3 separate regions of the Homo sapiens genome follow, and regions 1 and 3 are each linked to region 2. The links are contacts of gene promoters, found by promoter capture Hi-C in human tissues and cell types (Jung and others, 2019). All regions are on one chromosome and are shown on one strand. The core of a region is centred on a gene start or on the middle of the fragment in contact, and the rest is flanking DNA. Distances in the headings are between cores, read along the strand shown. Region 1 overlaps SRXN1 (sulfiredoxin 1). Region 2 holds the start of TCF15 (transcription factor 15). Region 3 has its middle 25 kb from the start of CSNK2A1.

Region 1 (2,700 bases), core at 76-2,575, 35 kb before region 2:
GTATACAGGAACTCTTTGTACTATCTCTGCAACTTCTCTGTAAATCTAGTATCATTCCAAAATAAAAGTTTATTTAATTTAAAAAAAAAAAGGGGGGGTGTGCAATTCCTTTAGACCAATGGTTCAGGGTCTCAAGCTTGTTTGCTAAATACCAGATTGCTGGGCCCCACCCCCACTTTCTTTTTTTTTTGAGACAGGGTCATGCCCTGTCACCCAGGCTGGAGTGCAGTGGCACGATCATGACTCACTGCAGCCTTGACCTCCCGGGGCTTAAGTGATCCTCCCACGTCAACCTCCTGAGTAGCTGGGACTACAGGTGCGCCCTTCTCATTTTTTTGTAGAGACAGGGTTTTGCTGTGTTCTCTGGGCTGGTCCTAAACTCCTGGGCACAAGCGATTCTCCCGCCTCAGCTTCCCAAAGTGCTGGGATTACAGACATGGCCACTGCCCCCGGCCCCCCAGAGTTTCTGATTGAGGCGAGTTGGGGCAGGGCCTGATAATTTGCTTTTCTAACAAGTTCCCAGATGTTGCTGATGCTGCTGTTCAGGGACCACATGCTAAGAGCTGCTAATAACTGCGTCAGTTATTTTCAAATACGGTGACTTCCCCACTTCCATCCCCAGTGGAATGAGTCTACTCATTCCCCCCAGCTTGTCTACTCATTAACTGTGTGACCTTGGGCGGTTCTGTCCCTTCCCTGGGGACTTCTTCCAGGCTGTCAAATGGATTGTGTACCCCTAAGGTTTGTAGCGAAGGTGAGGTGCCCCTGTCTTCTGTGAGTAAACTCCTCCTGTGCCCGCTGGGCTGGAATGAGAGTGAAGATGGTCGCCCCCTCCTGAAACAACTTTTCCTTCTTGCAGAGAAGACCCAACCAGACAGCGCTAAGGGCCCTGCCAGGCACTGCGAAGGAGGTGCAGAACAGATTCGGAGTAGAGGGGTACTGCTTGATCATTTAAGGAAGAGGAGCTGGGTTTTAAAGGGTGTAACCTGCTGGTAGCCGGAAGTTGCGTTTCCCTCTTACAGCAGCAGGTGGCGCTGCTCTCCGGCCCCCGCGGCAGGGCCGTCCCTCTGGCCTGCAAGAGCTACAGCTGTGGGAAGGGGCTGGATGCACGCGCAGGGCTGAAAGAGGCGGGATAGTTAACCCGGGTTCAGCCGGGATGAGTCTGGAGTTCAGGTTCTATTTATCAGCTCTTGTTCTGTAACCTTGCGCACATGTCTACCCATTCCTGTCTATACTGGGGGTGCTGGGCCAGAGAATCTCAGGCTCAGCAAAGGTGGTACCTCCTCCAAGAAGCTTCTGGGCTCCTACTGGCTGGGCTACCATGACCTACAGTGTCCCTCCCCAAAAAAACCTCTGCCCCCAGGAACTTGGCTCCAGTGAAAGGCAGTATGTGCCTTCACCGCCCTGGAACCCACCCACTTGACCGTGGTAGATTTAAATTTCCTTTTTTTTTTTTTTTTTGTTTTCATTTCACAAGGCTTTTTGTTGTTGTTGTTTTAGTAGAAATGGGGTTTCACCATGTTGGCCAGGCTGACCTTGAACTCTTGGCCTCAGGTGATCTGTCCGCCTCGGCCTCCCGAGGCACTGGGATTACAGGTGTGAGCCACCATGCCCAGCCATTTCACAAGTTTTATATAAGTATATTTACTTTTTAAAATGTGTTTGTTCGTTTGTTTGTGATGGGGTTTTGCTCTGTTACCAAAGCTGGCACGCAATGTTCTGATTATAGCTCACTGCAACCTCAAACTCCTGGGCTCAAGCCATCCTCCTGCCTCAGCCTCCCGAGTAGCTAGGACTACAGGCACCACCACACCCAGCTAATTTTGTTTTTAACGTTTTATAGAGACCAGGTCTTGCTCTGTTGCCTGGGGTGGTTGGTCTCCAACTCCTGGCCTCAAGTGATCCTCCCGCCTTGGCCTCCCAAAGTATGATATTACAGGCATGAGCCACTGCATTCAGCCATATTTACCGTTTAAACATTAAAATATTAAAATGTTAAATAATTAAATATTAGAAATTTAAAGTATTAGAGGCAAGCGGAAGCCCACCACAAAACCTAGTCCTGATTATTCCTTTGCCCTCTTGGGACAGTTACCTTTATGAATTTGGCATAGAGCCTCCCAGACTCTTATCTAATTTAATAGTAATGAATGTGCGTTTAAGTAAAAAATGTTTTCTTTTTTTGCGCTGTTTTGTGGATTGCTTTTCTCCCTTGGCACTGTGCCCCAGCCGTCCATCCCATTCGTGCGTGCCTGTCTCCCAGTCTCCCTCATTCTGGTCTGTGCCCAAATGTCACTTCTTCAGGGGCCTTCCCAACCATAGCGTCTAAAACAGCCCCCTCCCCCATCATTCCGTCCCTTTATCCAGTTTTATTTTCTTCATGGCATTTGTCACACTCTCCCAAATTTTCTTCTGTGTCTGCTTTTTTTGTTTTTTTTTTTAAGACAGGATCTTGCTCTACCACCCAGGCTGGAGTATGCAGTGGCACCATCGTGGCTCACTGCAGCCTCCAACTTCTGGGTTCAAGCAATCCTCCCACTTAGCCTCCTGAGTAGCTGGGATTACAGGTGTGTGTCACCACACCCAGCTAATTTTTTATTTTTCTTTTGTAGAGATGAGGTCTCACAATGTTTATCAGGCTGATTTTCAACTCCCGGCCTCAAGCAGTCCTCCCATATTGGCCTCCCAAAGTGCTGGGAT
Region 2 (2,700 bases), core at 22-2,521:
CACCTAGAAGCCTTTCAACTCCACTCCCTGCGCTCTGTCTGCTACACCGGCTGCCACTCGGGCTTATTTTCAAGGCCAAGTGGATGCTGGTTTAGCTAGTGCCTGGAGAGAGCTGAGCAGCAGGCACGAGTGAGATCGAGACCCCGGCAACCACCTTTGGCTCAGCAATTCTCTGAAGAGGACACGTCAGGCTGAACAATCTAAGGTTTCTAGAAGGCAAGCAGGCATTGAGGAAAGATAGCCCGTGTGTGTGTGATGGGATGGTGGTGGTAGGATTCCAAGAGGTAGTGAAACCGGACAGGCTGGAGCTAGCGCCGCCACTCCCACCTGTACGACTGAAGGCCGGAGCTCTCTGACCTGTAACTCAGGGCTGCCATCCTGCAGCCTCAGCTGGGCGCAATAGAGTATATAGCACCGAGTCTGGTACACAGTAGTTCCTTAACCAAAACGTCAGTTCCGTGAGGGTGAAGAATTTATTTTGTTAATGGCTGTATCCTCAGACCTAAAACCATGTCTGACACATAGTAGGGACCCAACGAATATTTGTTGAAAAAACGAACGAACTACTGGTGTTTGTGTATTGTGGTTTTGTTTTGCTTTTTTTTTTCTTCTTCTTTTTAAGTTTGTCTTCAGGGACAAGACACTGTCGAATCCTCATTTGGAAAGATTATAGCTTTTCTCCAAGTGTTCTCCACGGACACCACCACTATCACCAATGGCTTGTTACAAAATGTAGGTTCCTGGGCCCGTTCCAGAACTGCTCAATCAGAATGGGAGCAATTTGGGACTCTGTAATAGCAAAAGCCCCTTCCCCAGTTCTTACGCACGTGAAAGCTGCAGAACTACAGGATTAGAATTGGAGGGCAGGCAGACACTAGCTGTTTCTCTGCAATCTGAACGTTCCGAACGAGGAAACTGAGGCCCAGAGAGGAGAAAGGGATCTGCCCGCGTCTCCCAGGTGGTCCAGGCTGGAGACAAAAAGTTCGGATCTGGGCCCACCCCGGCCGACCCTCCCAGACCTCCAGCATCTGCCGGGCTAGCCAGCCGGGAACGGGGGCCTTCGGGGTGGGCCGCCGGCTCCCGGGCCGCTTTCAACCTGGGGGACGGAGGCGGTGGGAGCGTCGCCATTGGCCAGGGCGCGGCGGACGCCTCCCCATTGGCCGGGCGGACGCCTCCCCATTGGCCGGGCGGAGCCCTCCGCCCCCGGCCGGGGCGGCCTTGCCATTGGCCCCTCCCTCGCCTATAAGGCGGGGGCCGGCGGGGCCGTGGGAGCGCGCGGGAGCGCACGGCGGGGCGCGGCCGACGCTGGGACGCGGCGCACGGAGGGACGCGGCCGGCGCCCATGGCGTTCGCGCTGCTGCGGCCCGTCGGCGCGCACGTGCTGTACCCGGACGTGCGGCTGCTGAGCGAGGACGAGGAGAACCGCAGCGAGAGCGACGCGTCGGACCAGTCGTTCGGCTGCTGCGAGGGCCCGGAGGCGGCGCGGCGCGGCCCGGGCCCCGGGGGCGGGCGGCGGGCGGGCGGCGGCGGCGGCGCGGGCCCCGTGGTGGTGGTGCGACAGCGGCAGGCGGCCAACGCGCGGGAGCGGGACCGCACTCAGAGCGTGAACACGGCCTTCACGGCGCTGCGCACGCTCATCCCCACCGAGCCGGTGGACCGCAAGCTGTCCAAGATCGAGACCGTGCGCCTGGCGTCCAGCTACATCGCGCACCTGGCCAACGTGCTGCTGCTGGGCGACTCGGCCGACGACGGGCAGCCGTGCTTCCGTGCCGCGGGCAGTGCCAAGGGCGCCGTCCCCGCCGCCGCCGACGGCGGCCGCCAGCCGCGCTCCATCTGCACCTTCTGCCTCAGCAACCAGCGCAAGGGGGTGAGTGTGCTGCGTCCCTCGCTGCGGCCGCCAGGTCGGGGTAGGCGGGGGGCAGCGCCTCTGCGGGAACCGGAGAGGTGCAGGGGTCCCCAACGAGGCCAGGGGGAAGCGACGTGGAATTCGTGCTGGGTGCGGCACCCCAAGCCCAGAACCACTGACTTAATGCCCAGGCCCCCAAACAGAAGGATGCGGGAAAACCCAGAGTTCGGGTCTGATTTAACTGCTCAGTGTGGGATATCCCCTCCAACGAAAGGTGTGCTGGAACTTCCTTCCTGCTGGGAAGACGGCATGAGGACTGAGTAACAAAGACCCATCTTTTATGGAGTCTTCCTCTGTGCCGATGCGCTCCACATCCACTTTTTTGCCTTCACAAGAATCCCTTCAGGCAGGTAGTTTTTCTGCCCATTTTATCCTGATGAGGATCTGAGCATCAGAGATGGGATCACCTGCCCACATTTACTCAGCTGGGAAGCCGGGGCGCTGGCCCTGGGCTTGCCCGGTGTGTGTTGCCCCCACCTTGAAATAATTGTCCCCTGTCCTAAGATCTAACCCAAGAGCAGGAGACTGAGAAGAAAGGAGGCCACAAACCGCCAACCGAGAGCCTGAGGTACCCAGCGGATGAGCAGTAGGAGTGAAGAAGGGGCCCTCTGAGAGTCCCCAGCCCCCAAAAGGACGTGGTGTTGGGAGAGGGCACTCTTGGGTCAGCTGGAGGGAGCTGGTGTGCAGCTCCTGCAATGTGTCCTGGGCAAGAAAGTGGATCAGGCTGGTAGGGGTGGGCGGGGGCTGTGTGGCAGCAGAGGTGGCCTCTTGGCTGAAACCTTGCCCAGGCTCCA
Region 3 (2,700 bases), core at 110-2,609, 42 kb after region 2:
ATGTACATATGTATTTAGAAAGAGTCAAGATTCGGGAATATGGGTATGTCTGCAGTGGAAAACTCAGCTTTTAAATCTTTCTAAATCCCCACATAAAAATTGGCAAAGCAATTAGGTAGCAAAACCAAAACCCCATGGACAAGATTTACAACAAAACTGGGTCACAAGGTGTCCCCACAAATCCCAAAACACAAACAATAGAGACAAGTCTGCTTGCTCTCAGGGTCTGTGTGGGAGAATAACAGTACTGTATTTGTTTTGGGGGGGAATACATGGATTAATAATAAAGTCTCAGTCCCTGTTCTAGGGCCCAGGATTAATGGGAGATAGGTAATTACATAGACATATATCAAATTGCAGGCCAGGCACGCTGGCTCACACCTGTAATCCCAGCGCTTTGGGAGGCCAAGGTGGACCGATCACCTGAGGTTAGGAGTTCAAGACCAGCCTGGCCAACATGGTAAAACCCTGTCTCTACTAAAAATACAAAAATTAGCTGGGCATGGTGGTGCGTGCCTGTAATCCCAGCTACTTGGAAGGCTGAGGCAGGAGAATTGCTTGAACCTGGGAGGCGAAGGTTGCAGTGAGCCAAGATCAGGTCACTGCACTCTAACCTGGGTAACAGAGCGAGACTCCGTCTCAAAAAATAAATAGACAAATGAAATAAAAATTTAAAAAAAAATTGCAACTGTGACAAAAGTAATTCTAAGAGTTCAAGGTTTTGAATGTATATGAAAGACCCATATTTGAAATATTCCATGGTTTAAAAAAAAGGACAAAGGAACAACAACAAAAAAGAGCCTGGTAGACAGACACATGCCAGTATCTCCTTTGCAGGGCCCAACCCAATGGCTGCGGGTGGCATCTGAGGACAGCTGCCCATCTGCATGGGCTCAAGGGGAACTACCCAGCCCCCAGCTCAGGCTTCCATGCCCACCGCCCAGCATCTTCCTTCACCATGAATCATGTGTTTGTAGACGAAAAGGCAGGGTTATCCCAGCCAGGAAGTCCTTGGAGTCATCAGCATGGAGGCAGCCCCTTAAAGCGGAAAAAACAGTCTTCAGAGGCTGCAGACACAGGTTCGAGTCCCAGCCTGGCTGCATACTTCACGTGTGAGCTCATGGATGCCAGAGAGGAGGCACCTACCCGGGCTCACACAGCAGAGCTGCGGACACTTTTGGATTCCCAAGTGGGCTCTTCCAGCTCCTCTGTTTAGGGGGATTTGGAAGTCCTTGGCAATCATTCAAGGCAGATTGAAGATGAAGGCGTGTGTTATGCCATCTGTCCTCCAGGTTCTCAAGCCGCTCAGGCAGCACCAAACCACGGGCAGGACGAGAACGAAGTGCGCTTGTGACTCACCCAGCTTCTGTTCATTGTCAAGAGCAACCTTAGCAGGTAGGTAGCCTTACCCCATTTTAAAGGTGAGGAAATTGAGGCTCAGAGAGGAGAAAAGGGGACCTAAGGTCACACAGCCCTAACGTGTTTCGACCCCGGTCTTTCAGCTGAGCCACCTCAGTCCCCAGGGCAGCTCTGTCTTGGCAAACCCAACCTGACACTGAGCCTGGGGCCCCGCTCAGGGGTGGGGCCGTCTCCCTGTGAACAGGTCTATTTTTAGTGTCAGCAGCAGGGGCTAGGGGCAGAAGCCAGGAGTGACAATGGGGGGAAGGGGGTGGGGCTGCTGGCGGCCGCCCCCGCACCCAGCAGCCGCCCCATTTCCTCGAGAAACCAGGCAGCGCACAATACAAGGAAAGCCGAATGGGGAGCGGCTGGGGGCTCCTGTGGGGGGGGCTGACCTGGCCCATCAGGGCAGCTGGGGGCCTGGAAGAGGCCTCCGGGCGGGGGGAAATGGACGATTAGTCCAGCTGCCTAGCCCAAGCAGAGTGATGGTTCTGCTCTGCACGTGCGCGTACACAGCCACACATTCACCTTAAGGTGAATCACTTGGGGTCAGGAGTTCGAGACCAGCCTGGCCAACACAGCAAAACCCAGTCTCTACACACAGAAGTCTTTTAGTCACTCCTCAACCAGGAAACGATCTCACTTTTAGCCTCAGAGGCAGAGAACTGGGCCCTGGGGACTCAACGAGGTCAGATCCTGCAGAGGCCAAGCAGAAACTGATTTGGCAGGGGCCAGGTGAGAGGCGCTGCCATGAGCACCCCAGACATTCTGCCAAGGTCTTGGCCCCCTGGGGAAGGCTGCCTCTGCTGGGGAAGTTCCTGGCCTGAAGCTTGGGCTTCCAGTTGAGGAGGACTTCATGACAAGAGCAGGAAGGTGGTTCCCCACAGCTTTCTCTGCCCCTCTACAAAGTTGAGGTGGAGCTGTCCAGTTTTGCCTAGGCAGGTGTGCTGCACTAAATTTGATGCCTGAGATTCTCCTGCGTCCTCCTGAGGCTGAGAATAAACAATCGCTTCTCCCTCTGTCCCTCTCAGCACTGCCAGCCCCTGGGGACAGAGTTCTGGGGCAGTCCTGCCTCGCCATCCCATCTCCACACCCTGGTTTATGCTGTGCCCCTGCCAGGGGTACCCTCCCTTACCTTCCCATTCCCGTTCCACAACCAAAGCTCTGAGAACAAAGACAGTGACACGCTTGTCTGCCATCCCACTCCCAGAACCAAGTACAGTACCCGCAGAATGAGATCCCTGCCTCCTCCTGGGGGCCTCTCCTCCACTCTCTCACCATGGATGAAGTTATCCTGTTGGA

Evidence for each region. Contacts are between HindIII fragments. The study calls those that stand out against the background at their distance.
Region 1: a fragment that was not itself captured here is called in contact with the fragment with the promoter of TCF15 in region 2 in 5 of the 25 tissues and cell types used here (IMR-90 fibroblasts, heart left ventricle, heart right ventricle and 2 more).
Region 3: a fragment that was not itself captured here is called in contact with the fragment with the promoter of TCF15 in region 2 in 1 of the 25 tissues and cell types used here (spleen).

Annotation. Positions count from the first base shown.
Region 1 is chr20:644,006-646,705 of GRCh38, reverse strand. SRXN1 (sulfiredoxin 1) reads left to right here. Exons shown (of 2, transcript NM_080725.3): 2 at 1-91. Among named protein-coding and RNA genes, the nearest start is that of SRXN1, 7.8 kb to the left of the region's middle. The HindIII fragment of the contact is 4,587 bases long and covers 1-2,700 here.
Region 2 is chr20:608,880-611,579 of GRCh38, reverse strand. TCF15 (transcription factor 15) reads left to right here and starts at 1,271. Exons shown (of 2, transcript NM_004609.4): 1 at 1,271-1,867. The coding sequence starts at 1,343. RefSeq lists an enhancer at 1-364 and silencers at 1,064-1,173, 1,184-1,353. The HindIII fragment of the contact is 16,586 bases long and covers 1-2,700 here.
Region 3 is chr20:567,420-570,119 of GRCh38, reverse strand. No RefSeq gene overlaps it. Among named protein-coding and RNA genes, the nearest start is that of CSNK2A1, 25 kb to the right of the region's middle. The HindIII fragment of the contact is 6,383 bases long and covers 1-2,700 here.